Regions from separate parts of the Homo sapiens genome. Here all the other regions are linked to region 1. Evidence: promoter capture Hi-C in 16 types of primary human blood cells and fetal thymus (Javierre and others, 2016). All regions are on one chromosome and are shown on one strand. The core of a region is centred on a gene start or on the middle of the fragment in contact, and the rest is flanking DNA. Distances in the headings are between cores, read along the strand shown. Region 1 holds the start of SPATA1 (spermatogenesis associated 1). Region 2 overlaps PRKACB (protein kinase cAMP-activated catalytic subunit beta). Region 3 overlaps PRKACB (protein kinase cAMP-activated catalytic subunit beta). Region 4 has its middle 84 kb from the start of SSX2IP.

What was found. Contacts are between HindIII fragments. The CHiCAGO score rates a contact against its expected background, and 5 or more counts as called.
Region 2: a fragment that was not itself captured here is called in contact with the fragment with the promoter of SPATA1 in region 1 in 7 of 17 cell types (fetal thymus, M0 macrophages, erythroblasts and 4 more); the score reaches 6.9 in fetal thymus.
Region 3: a contact is called between a fragment that was not itself captured here and the fragment with the promoter of SPATA1 in region 1, in 1 of 17 cell types (fetal thymus). The highest score is 5.0, in fetal thymus.
Region 4: a contact is called between a fragment that was not itself captured here and the fragment with the promoter of SPATA1 in region 1, in 4 of 17 cell types (megakaryocytes, M2 macrophages, fetal thymus and 1 more). The highest score is 7.4, in megakaryocytes.

The regions. Positions count from the first base shown.
Region 1 is chr1:84,504,931-84,507,850 of GRCh38, reverse strand. SPATA1 (spermatogenesis associated 1) reads right to left here and starts at 1,465. Exons shown (of 14, transcript NM_001397487.1): 1 at 1,433-1,465. It overlaps GNG5 (G protein subunit gamma 5), which reads left to right and starts at 1,270. Exons shown (of 4, transcript NM_005274.3): 1 at 1,270-1,415; 2 at 1,550-1,840. The coding sequence starts at 1,760. RefSeq lists silencers at 1,545-1,624, 1,875-2,004. The HindIII fragment of the contact is 7,618 bases long and covers 1-2,887 here.
Region 2 is chr1:84,184,866-84,187,785 of GRCh38, reverse strand. It overlaps PRKACB (protein kinase cAMP-activated catalytic subunit beta), which reads right to left. Exons shown (of 10, transcript NM_182948.4): 5 at 2,604-2,686. Among named protein-coding and RNA genes, the nearest start is that of PRKACB, 42 kb to the right of the region's middle. The HindIII fragment of the contact is 1,202 bases long and covers 806-2,007 here.
Region 3 is chr1:84,201,930-84,204,849 of GRCh38, reverse strand. It overlaps PRKACB (protein kinase cAMP-activated catalytic subunit beta), which reads right to left. Exons shown (of 10, transcript NM_182948.4): 8 at 2,045-2,167. Among named protein-coding and RNA genes, the nearest start is that of PRKACB, 59 kb to the right of the region's middle. The HindIII fragment of the contact is 1,077 bases long and covers 918-1,994 here.
Region 4 is chr1:84,772,704-84,775,623 of GRCh38, reverse strand. No RefSeq gene overlaps it. Among named protein-coding and RNA genes, the nearest start is that of SSX2IP, 84 kb to the right of the region's middle. RefSeq lists an enhancer at 265-764. The HindIII fragment of the contact is 3,509 bases long and covers 1-2,920 here.

The DNA of each region.
Region 1 (2,920 bases), core at 216-2,715:
ACTGTTTCGGCCTAAAACACTGCTTATTCCTCAACAGTCTCCCTCACAGAAGTAATTATTGGACCATATATTCCCTAAAATCTCTTCCAGCATTAACATACCACGGTTCTAAGAGTTCAGTGATATATTTTACAACTACTGTAAAACAGATCATTCTTTGAATAGATACTTGTGTTTAATCTTACAAATCTGTAAAGTATGAATGACGTTTTAGCATTATACAGTCAACAAAGCACCAAAGGTGAAATAATTACAATACCTTTTGGGAAAAGACAATATTTATTGAGATAGCTTTCACATTCTTTTTACATATAATGTCATTTCATTCCGAAAAACAACTCTACGAAGCTGTATAATTTACTTTGAAATAAGGAAATAAAGCCTCAGTAACTTAAGTGGCTTGCCCAAGAATACCGTAAGTAGCAGAGCCAGAATTCAAACCCTGGTTTTAACCCCAATCATTACATCCGTATGAATTAAGTAAAATGCTAAACTTACGATGTACATTTTTGCGAACTGATATAAACTGTTGAGTAAATAAATTAGATTTTGTTGACCAGTGCAATTACACATGCTTCCCTAATAAAAAATTTGAAATCCATTAATGATAAAATTATTAACATTAATGGAAAACATCAGCGCATTCGGAGATTGACTACCCGAAAAGAAATAGGAAACATCTGCCCTTAGTGCTGTGACATAACACACATATTTCCGTGGATGAAAGAAAGACCTACTGGCTGAGCCTATTTTGTTTGGTTAGACCCTACCCTCTCTCCTAAAAACTCCTTTGGTACTCAATTTCAAGCAGGAGGTAATAAATTACAACGGAAATACTAAAGAGCAAACTTTCCGGAAACACAAAAATAAGTTTTATTTTAAAAAGTACAATAAGCATTAATTCTCCAGAGTAAATGGGTAACCGAGCAGACAGGTGTAATCTTCAGCCAGCACCTTGGCTTCTTCACAATCTCCTTCAGAAAAACCGATTCAAGAGCTAAGAAGCCAGTAAAGTCAAACCTCGAGAAGATCCCTTCTCCAGCGAATCAGCGCCCCTGCTCCCCGCCCGCCCGGCTCCGCTGGGTACGCGACAGCGACCTCCGCGCCTGCTCTCCGCCTCGGGTCAGCGGGGCTGGGGGTTGGGGGTGGAACTGAAAATGCCTGTTGGCCAAACTCGGGTCACAGAGAGACACGCCTGTACGGGGCGGGGGTGTGCGGGTGACTCACGCCGGGTGCACAGTAGCTCCTACGCCTCACCCAGTATCTCCCCTCACTTCCCTCAACCCTTCCCACAAACTGGGAGGAAAACTGAGACCTCCTGGTCACCCGCCGCCGGGCCTTTTAGAAACTCCCACAAGCTCTGCCTTCCCTCCCTGGTCCTCTTCAGACCCCCTCTTAGTTCTTCGCGGCTAACGGTAAGCTCTCTCCTTACCTCTCCCTAATCGGCCCCTCTGGAGAGGAAAAGAAAACTTAAGAGTCGGGTCGCGCTAGCCTCCAGCAGCCGCCGCGCCCACCGACTGCTCCGCCCCTTCTCCTCCCCCTCCTCCAGGCTCGCGCTCGGGGCCGGGTGTGGAGCTGGAACAGAGGGCTGGCAAGGCGCGCATGCGCACCGAGGGTGGAGCCGCTGAGCACAGAACCGGAAACTTAGAGACAAAGTTCGGAGCCCCGCCCCCGCCGCGCGCCGCTGAGTTGTCTGGCCCCGCCGACCCACGGCCCACGACCCACCGACCCACGAATCGGCCCGGCCGTCGCGTGCACCATGTCTGGCTCCTCCAGCGTCGCCGCTATGAAGAAAGTGGTTCAACAGCTCCGGCTGGAGGCCGGACTCAACCGCGTAAAAGTGAGCGGGGGCGGGCGGCCGAGGCGGGAGGAAGGCGGCGGCGGCGGGTGGGATCCGGCGGCCCAGCTGGCGGGGGCGGGCGGGACACGCGCCGGCCCTCGCTTCCCCTGGAGAGGACGCGCGCTCAGCGGCGGCGATCGGGGAGCGGCCAGCTTTAGAGCAGGCGCCGCGTGGGTCTACGCTGTGTTTTAGGGGGACGATTAGTTCGCCCTTCCGCCCCAGGACTTTCCGAGGCGGGCTGGCCCCTGGGTTGAACCGTGGCCGACATTCCGGTCCTCCTCCGTCTCTACCTCCCTTGGCAGCCTTCTCGGCTGGTCTCACCAACAGCTGCGCCTCCGCGCGCTGTCCGCACCCTTCCTTTCCCACTTTGCCAGCCTCCTGTTTCTCATCGGACAGGGTATTTTCCGACTTTTGATTCAGAGCAGACTTTTCTCCCATTTGATCTTTCCCAAACCTACTTCCTTTAGTATTAAATTCTTACCTTCAACTTCTCTTGTCCGTTGAACACATACTTTTAAGCGAATTATTGCATAACTTAAACTGTGGATTGAATAAGCATTTTTCGAAACGATCCTGGAGTGTAAAGTTCCGGTCAGTGCCCCGTACAACCTCGAACAAAGCGTGCATTTCATACCTATGGCACAGTTTGCTCATATTTGACCTTGGGGATATCGACTGGTCCGCATGCCGGAGAAAATGATTATTGTGGGTAATTATTGGTCTTATTTTGGCGTCTGGTTAGTATTGGCCTTGTCTTGGGGTACTTTGGGAGAAAAAGCCTTTTGTCTGTGTTGATAGAATAACTTGACATTCAAGTGCTGTTCTAAGTATTTCCTGATTTTTACAGTCCTAAATGGATTGGCTTCTTTCTGGTACAATAGGTCAGGCTACATGTGAAACACTTCTGCAGTTAAAAAAAGAAACAAGAATGTAAATCATGTGCCCTGTTAAAAGCAGCCAGTTCCTAAGATGATTTGATTTTATACTCATCAGGCTAGTCTTTATTACTTGCCGAAATGTTTTGTGAACTGAGAGGGTCTCTAAGCTTTCTTAACTAGAAGTGTCAGAGACCTAGCTTAC
Region 2 (2,920 bases), core at 157-2,656, 320 kb after region 1:
TCCTATGTAATCAATGTAGAGAAAAAAGTTTTTTCTAAAGAATAACTATAATATACCTGTTATTAGACTGTAAGTCTGTACATTATTTTTGAGTCTTGTTATCTACCTATAGACTAGACAAGGTCCTAAATTCTTCTAGGTTCCTCCAATCGAACTTTCTTCCATAAAATTACTAAAATGAGAACCGCTCTGTTCCTGAAGTCCTGTTAGCTGAAACTATATAAATTTTAAGAAACAAGTCTCATGCCTGATGTATGGGCCACACAGAAAGTTCATCAAACTGCCCAAAGCCATAGCCAGAGACATTTACACTGTAAACAAAGCCAAGAAAGTTGATGTTTTCCATGGTGTGAACAGCTTTTCTCAAAACACTAGAACAAGACTCCATATTGTAATGAAACTCTTACCCCTCTTAATGCCTGCTTTTTCACTTAACCAAATAATATTGTAATTTAAAATTCACAATCAGTAACTGCTATAGGTACTGGTGAGACCTGCTAAAGCCATTGACAAAGCCTGACTTAAGAAATTCTTTCAGTTCATCTAGTCACAACATCGACAATATCCTTAACACAATTTTTTGTTTAATTTGTGCTGGTGGTCCCTCTTGCAAAGTTTGGCATTCTCTGCTTTAGTTCAACCCAGTCATAAAATGTTAGTCAATGGCTATAGCAGGTCTCACCAGTTTCCCCTGGTCCTTTGATTTCTTTAGTTTTTTGCCCTTAGGCCTGGGCTTTAGTTCAAAAGCACTGCACAAATACATTTTACTATATTGTTAATTTTTTTGTACTATCATTTGTAAGCTTTGTTCTTAGTGCCTATCTAATCTTTGTAAAGGCAGCTGTCCCAACAGAATAACGTTAGCCCAACACTTAAAGATGACTGCTAATACCTATGGAAGTGATAAGTGGGAACTCGATGCTGGCTGGACTCCAGACAAAAATCTACTTTGAGAAAAATTTTCCTTCTGGCCTCCTCGTTACTTGAATGTGGCCCAGGTCCCTACATAGACACCCCCCAACAGATAACTTCTCTCATATGTGGGACAGAGACAACCAGAACAAGTCCATCCGAGCACCAAGGAATAATTAAGCCTAACTTCAAGATGGTTGACAAGCAATGCTTTCAGAGAAAGATCTTGATCAAAAGGGAAAAATGTGAAAGCTGATTATACAAATTAGTCATTCTCATCATACCTAACTAAATCAGAGTCGAGGGGCCAGGGAATAACGCACTCAGGGCACACAGCACCTGCTCCAAGAATTAAGGCCAGGTGTGGTAGCTCACACCTGTAATCCCAGCACTTTGGGAGGCCAAGGAGGGTGGATCACTTGAGATCAGGAGTTCGAGACCAGCCTGGCCAACACGGTGAAAACCTGTGTCTACCAAAAATAGAAAAATTAGCCGGATGTGGTGGCGGACACCTCTAGTCCCAGCTACTCGGGTGGCTGAGGCAAGAGAATCACTGGAACCCAGGAGGCAGAGGTTGCAGTAAGTCGAAATGGTGCCGCTGTACTCCAGCCTGGGCAACAGAGGGAGACTCAGTCTCAAAAAAAAAACCAAAAACAAACAAAAAAATTATATTTTCCACAAGTCTAGTTGCTGAAACTGCCTATTGTAACCTGAAACCAGTTTTCTCTAACAGCTACTGAGACAACCTACTGCGACTCTTAGACGAGTCTGACCCACCACCATCACTCACCAATCAGAGCTTGCCAGCTCCCCAAAACTTAACTAGTGCTAGTAAACTTTGTTTCAAAACAAATAAACATAAAATTTCTTTTTATAAAACCTCCAACCTTTTCTTTGTTTTCTAGACACATTGAAGACCACCTAGTCTGTGTATATGCCTCAAACTGCAATTCTTGCTTCCTCAATAAAATGTTGAATTTAGAGATTTGTCTCTACATTTTTATTTTGACTTCAACACACTATACTGAATGAAGCTGTACCTGTTTTTTATTTTAGCTTTATTCTATTAGTGATTATTAATGAACGGTAGAAGCTTATAAACTATTAAGTACAGGTAAAACCATCAGATTCTATAACCTATTTTAATAACTCTGAGATCTTATTAGTCATAACCTGATGAGGTACAAACTCCCGTTAAATTATGTGTATATTTTAAAAACTAAACTTAGCAAGAACTTTAAGGAGAATTAAATTTGTGAAAAACAAACTTTTATAATCTTATTACCATAATACTATTATTATTATTTCTCTATATATTTATTTTCCATCTTCATCCTTAAAACAATCCTCTGTCCTGGAGTTGTATTATTAATCTTTGTTTAATAAATATTGATATTTTAAAATTCAATTAATTTTTCCATTTTCTGAAAACTCTTCAAGTAGTGGACCCTCACAATATCTAGCAGTAGTATAACATTTAAATTGGCTTCAAAGTCCTTTTTTTATATTAAATTTTTATATTCTTTATATTAAAACTTGTGTATGATGTGGCCTCTTTGTTTCCACCTAATGCTTCATATGGCCAAAATATTAATCAAACAAAATAAGTTTTTGGCATTGGCATCAACTTAAAAATCTGGTTAAACAACACAAGCATATAAAGATTTGAAGAAAGCAAAACCATTAGTTACCTGAACCTTCCAATTCTTCTTAGATGTGAAAACATTTCACCCCCAGGGACATATTCCATAACCATGTATAAATTAGAATTATCCTATGAACAAATAAAAAGGAAATACAATTATTCAACTTAGGTCAAAATTATTTTAATATTATATAATGCTGAATTAGAAAAATTTAAAATCTCTCTGACAGATTAATAACCTTGAGAAATAAAGAATAAATGGAACATGCTCTAGCTTTTCTATACAGAGACACTCATATTTTTCCCCTCCTAGTTATTTTTGCCACAAACTAGTCTGGGACTTTTGCTCTTCCTTTTCTTGCA
Region 3 (2,920 bases), core at 207-2,706, 300 kb after region 1:
GACACATTAATTTTAACTAAAGCAGTTTTTCTTAATAAATGTAAATTTAGTTATGACAGTATCCTTGTTAGAAAATTGGATTTCTTATATGAATATAAATAAAAGTAATATAGTAAAGATTCAAGAACTTTATAATTACTGTCAATTAAATGATTTGAAACAATTATTATAACATTTACATTCTTAGTTTTTGTATTAGTAAAATATTCTTCTTCCATTTGTGATTTTAATGTATTTTGGTTCTCTCATCATTCTTCATATGACCTTTAGTCCTCTTGAGAGTCTACACTTCTCAAATTCTTCAAAAATAAATCACTGCCTTGTCTGTTAATTTTTCTCAAAGTTTTGTTTTGTTCATATCAAAAGTTCTGCTGGGAGAAAACAATTACAAAGATAAGAAGTCTGAAGCCAGAGATCTACAAATGTAAGAAGAACAGCAGTGATACTGATACTTGTTTAAATAAGTACTGCATTCTGCTTTTCTGTATTGCCTTTATCAGTGCACAGCATTCAACACCTAGCTAGGTTTATTTATCTGTAAGAGGTATTTATTTTTTTACCTTTGACATAGTTGGAGTATAAATTCTTTAGTCAGTCTCCTAATTTGTGAATACTGATAATAAATAAAACTTTCTACATAAAACGTGGCAAAATACAAGGGAAAATCTCATGACCCAGGTAGAGTGCATATGTACTATGAGATAGGGAACAATACTGTGCTGAAATGTATGTTCTAGGTGATTGGATAGACTAATTCTATTGGCAAATGTCTTGTTGCTACAGCCCAGCTGTGCAGCATCTATGATTTAAATTTGAGTGTTGGCAAAAAAAATAAATTACCACATTAGAGACATTCAGGGTACCTTGTGAATAGTTAACAATGGAAATTGTAAGTTGATAGATGCCAAGGGTAAGCTTTCACACTAAATGTAGAGCTTGAATATGGCTGAGATACAAAGAAATAAAGACCTTCCCTCTACTATCTCCTTCCGGCTTATCTCTGCCTAAGAAGGTCACAAAATACAAAGCAAACAAATAAAAAATAAAACAAAAAAACCTCAACTCTATAACATCTCAGGCTAATGTGATAAAGATTGATGCTCTATTTCCTGATCATATTCTAAATGGGACTATGTGGGAAAGAAAAGAAAAGACAAAGCAGTACCACATGTAGAAATAGAAAGAAGGGAAAATAAGCAAAATATCCCTTCCCATATATTTTGTCATTAATGTATAGAAGGTCTCCTTCTGGGAATGTTTAAAAGCCTATTCTTTCATTGCTGCATGGTAGGAAATTCAAGCTCATTTCTATTGAATTGACAATGGTCTTTTAAAAAAAGATCCGAGGTCTGAGCTAAGGCAACAGCAAATGACTGACCCTAAACAAAACACTCTTGAAAGCAAATTAGAGGTTATAAGTGCAAAAGAAGGAAGGTTTATGAAGAAATTTACAAAATGTAAAATACTACAACACAGTAAGTCTACTCATGTTGAAGAAAAATTAATGTTATTTCCATGTTTGCTAAAAACCAATGACAAGTATAATCACAATCTATATGAACAATTCTGTTAAAATCAATTCTATAAATTTCCATCTGAAAAAGGCTTATTCATTTTATATTTACTTTTACTTCCAATGTTATAGTATTGGACATAATTAAAACAAGAAGTCTCTCCTGAAAATGGAAGGGCATATAAAACAGCCCCTAAAACTTTTCTCCATGAAGATAGACACATGAAATAATAAACTATTTTTATTTATTTGAAGGAATATCGAGAATTATGGCTATGATCCTGTTCTTTGTGATAAAAATACTAAATACAGAAATTGCTTTACTGTTTTGTTAATTTCTTTATAAAACTGCCCTTTTTTTCTTAAGAGACTGAAATGATTCAATTCTTATGATAGTAAGAGCAGCAACTGTAGATTTTTCTATATTTTTCCCAATGTAGAATAATAATTATGACACAATATAGTTTCAATTCATGAAGCTTAAAATTCATATACAGTAATAAGAGAGGAATAATAAAATGTTTTACTTACCTTTCCAGAAACAATCTTTTCATAAATCTGAATTGGTTGGTCTGCAAAGAATGGGGGATAGCCAGCTGCCATTTCATAGATTAGCACTCCTAATGCCCACCAATCCACTGCCTTATTGTAGCCCTGAGATAAACCAACACCAATGTCAATTGTTACTTAAGTTACTCAAAAGAGAATGAAGTCAAAGATAATTTCAAAATGATCTGGAAGCATATAAAAATTTTTTTAAAGCAATTGCTGAGCAGCTATTCAGGACAGAATTTAAAAATGAACCAAATGTATCAGGTCAGATTTAAATTAAACAAAGGAGAGGATTTCCAGATACTGAAATTGGATATTAGGAAAGAGTATTAAATCTTCTTCCTAAAATTATTAAGAATATTATAGACAATGAAATTTTCTTTATTTCACTGGTATAATTTAGTTCTTGCTCAATAACAGGAAGGCAGTTAGACCACATTACTTCTTAAGGCCCACTCTAGGTCCATAATCTTATGAAACAGATTTTCCACAGCATGCCTAGAAAGATCAAAAGTTTTCAAAGAAAATAATAGAAACTGGACTACATAGTAAATAATGAAGTTGACTTCAAAATACTCTATATTTTTGGAGTTAGGAGGGTGAATGTGCTAGGGATAATCCCATCTGCTTCATAGGATTTTGTGAAAGCAAAAAGTTTAATGTAAAATTCAATTCATGTAAATATTTAGGTATACTTTACTTCTGCTATCTACTGTCTTGCTTCCTATATCTAAAAGATATGCAGGAAAAAAATGAATTCACAGAGTTTTGTGAGGACTGTATCAAATGAAAGGGAGTAACGTGTGTAAAAAGTGCTTTGCAAACCAAATGTAAAAATCACAGGTTATGTTTGTT
Region 4 (2,920 bases), core at 168-2,667, 270 kb before region 1:
GTGATGGCCGCAAAGAAGGGAGCAACCTCCCAGAAGAAAGCCCAGGCACCTTGGAGTGTGAGTAACTACTGGGCTTTTTTTTTTTATTATTATCAGACATCTTGGTGCATCAGAACCAGGACCTGTAAAGGGTGATACTTCGTTAGCTCAAAGAGCCAGGTGGGAGCAGGGTGGACCCTGTGTGTGAACCAAGCATTTCTCCCGCTGAGAGGTGGCGCTATGGAGAGGATGGAAAGGGCTTGCCCTGAGGCACTGACTGGAAGGTGAACCGTGCTCCTCCGCTGCTCTGGGAATTGGCTTTGGTCATTCCTCACTCCTGAGTTGCCTGCCAGCCAAGGGAGGTGCATGTGTTGGGGGAGAAATCCCATCATCATCAACAGCCAGGCCCAGGCCTTTCCTGTGGAGGGTGTATAGCCTGCAGAGCTTAAGGAATTCCTCCCTAGCAGCAAGTCAACCACACCCCCTTTACCTGGGATTTTGGCAGCGTGGATGCTTTTTAAAAGGGCAGATTTTATTTCATTGCAAACAAAAGAGGCATTCAGGCTCCAGGGCACTCTCCTCCCTGGCAGCATCCTCCCAGGCCTGGTGAGAGCGCTCCCTGCAGACCCTCAGGGCAGGCCACACTGCCTCTCAGATGAAGGAGAGGAAGATGGATGGACCGCCACGGGCAAGCCTTCTCTGTGGGAACATAAAGCCCAGCATCTGCTTGGGGCAGAAGCCCCGGGGTGCCCCATGAGAAAGCCGTCAGGGCCCTTGGTGTGCAGTCAGGCAAGCTGATGGGCTGGGCAGCCGCTGCCAGTTAGGGAACACAGAATGCTCCTTCACAGTACAGCGAGTCCATCTGGGCAGGAGCCCTCCACAGCCGGCCTCTCTGGGAATGTGTCTTTGCCATTTGGAAGGCCAAGAGCCATCATCGTTCATTCAGACGCCTCCTGTGAGGCCAAGGAGGCTGGTCCATTGTTCCTGCCTCCCCATTCCCTCTGTCCTCCCACCCACAGCCTGGGGTGCACCTCTCCTCCTCACAGCTGCTGCCTGTGAGTTGTGCAAGGCAGACCTCTTAGAAGTCTCGCTTGGAACTGCCTAGAAGGAGATAGGCATGTTTTAATGGGAATGTAGGCATTTGGTGTGTTTACTGATGTTTCCTGGACAATCTCTTGTCAAAGGTTGAGCCTTTCTGTGTCTCAGAAAGGGAAAAACACATGTGTGGGTTTACACATTGCTGAGAGAGCAGGCAGAAAGCTGCTGCCAGACCATCAGTTTCATCCTCATCATCGGAAAGTATCTTCTAAGCACCTGATTGCCCATCACACCAAATAAAGAGGAAGTCTTGTGTGGGAGGCCACTGAATTGGAAGGGAGGAGGTGTGGATTCCTATCCCTGCTCTGCTTCTAAGCAGCTCTGTGCCTTTTCACTCGGCATGGCTTCCCTTGCTCCAATTCCACAGTGCTATCCCAGATACAGCCCTTCCCCTCTGCATTCCCCAGCCCCTGCCCACAGCAGACATGGCTAATCAATCATGTTCCCATGGCGCCTTACAGCATGGCCTCAGAGACATTAACACAGAGCTCCCGACAGCCACTGCTCACTGATTTGAAGGGCCCTCAAGATTAAACCTGTTTGCTATCACTTCCCTAAAGGAATTTATCACCTGGGAATGAAATTCTATACCAAAAACAGTCCAGGTCACTGGAAAACAAAAGGTTACAAATCAAGAAAGCAATAAGCCCACCTGAACAATCTGGACTGACCAGGTAAGTCATACTTTGGCAAAGACAGATATCCTCGCTTAATCATTTTACTGGGACAGATCCAAGGTTAGAGAAAGTGAAACATACCCTAAATCAGAAATGCCCTTTCTTTCACATATGGAGTTCTGGGAGGGAAGGTACCTTACTCCTGCCCTCTTCGCTTCCTAGATGGGGAGAGGGAGGCCTCAGTGGTTGTGACTTCCCAGGCCCCTCAGTTTGGTGGTGACCTTGTCAAACAAGAGTCCAGGATTTTTGGTCCCCAGCCCAGTGCTCCTTCTACCCACTGACACCCATTGTCTTGCTAGGCAAGGAAAAAACTCCACACTGCTATTTAAAGCACAGGCAATTAATGGTTTTCAATAGTGTTTGTGATGAAAATTAATGAACTATGAGCCAAAGGCCCCTCATTGAGATCATAAAAACAAATGACTAAACCCTGCGTGATTGGACAAGGGAGTCAGAGTTCCTTCATGTTATTGTAACTCCACCACTCCCTTTGGTTATGTGGGGAGTCACCGAACCTGTTTTCAAACCTTGGTTTTCTTGCCCGTACAATGGGCACCAACAGTGCTGCCTGTACTTGCCTCGCCAGGACATAGAAGCCAAAAGCAAACGACATGGAACTTCCAGATCCAGATTAACAGCAGTCACCATGAGCGGAGTGACATGATGTCTGCTATTAGGTAGTCAGCTGCAATTCTGGAATCACCGGCAACATTTGACAAATCCCAGGATATGTTGGGTAAGTGCTCCACAGCTCAGATGATTCCAACTCTAAGGGTCATGCAGGCTTCAGAAGTAGTTTTTATTTAGATAGGAGTGTCAGGGGAGGAACCTAGAAAGACCTTCCGTCGGATGAAGGATTTCTCCAAATCAGCAGTACACCTAAGGGGTCCCCTGCCTCTTTTTGCTTCAGGTATCTGGAGGAGGGTTCTGACAGCAGGGCTGAGGCCCAGGATGACAGTGCTGCATGCCTGCCTAATGACTGTTAACCAGGGAGCAGCTGAAAGCGTTAAGGATCAGTGTGTAACAGATCAGCATACAGAGAGAGTACCCCAAACACATCTCTTCTGGGTGGTATTTATCAGGGCACCTTGCTGGGTGTTCTTGACATCAGGAACCTGGCTTTGTAACCACATGCCCACCGCACTAAGGCCTTTGCCATAAGGAGT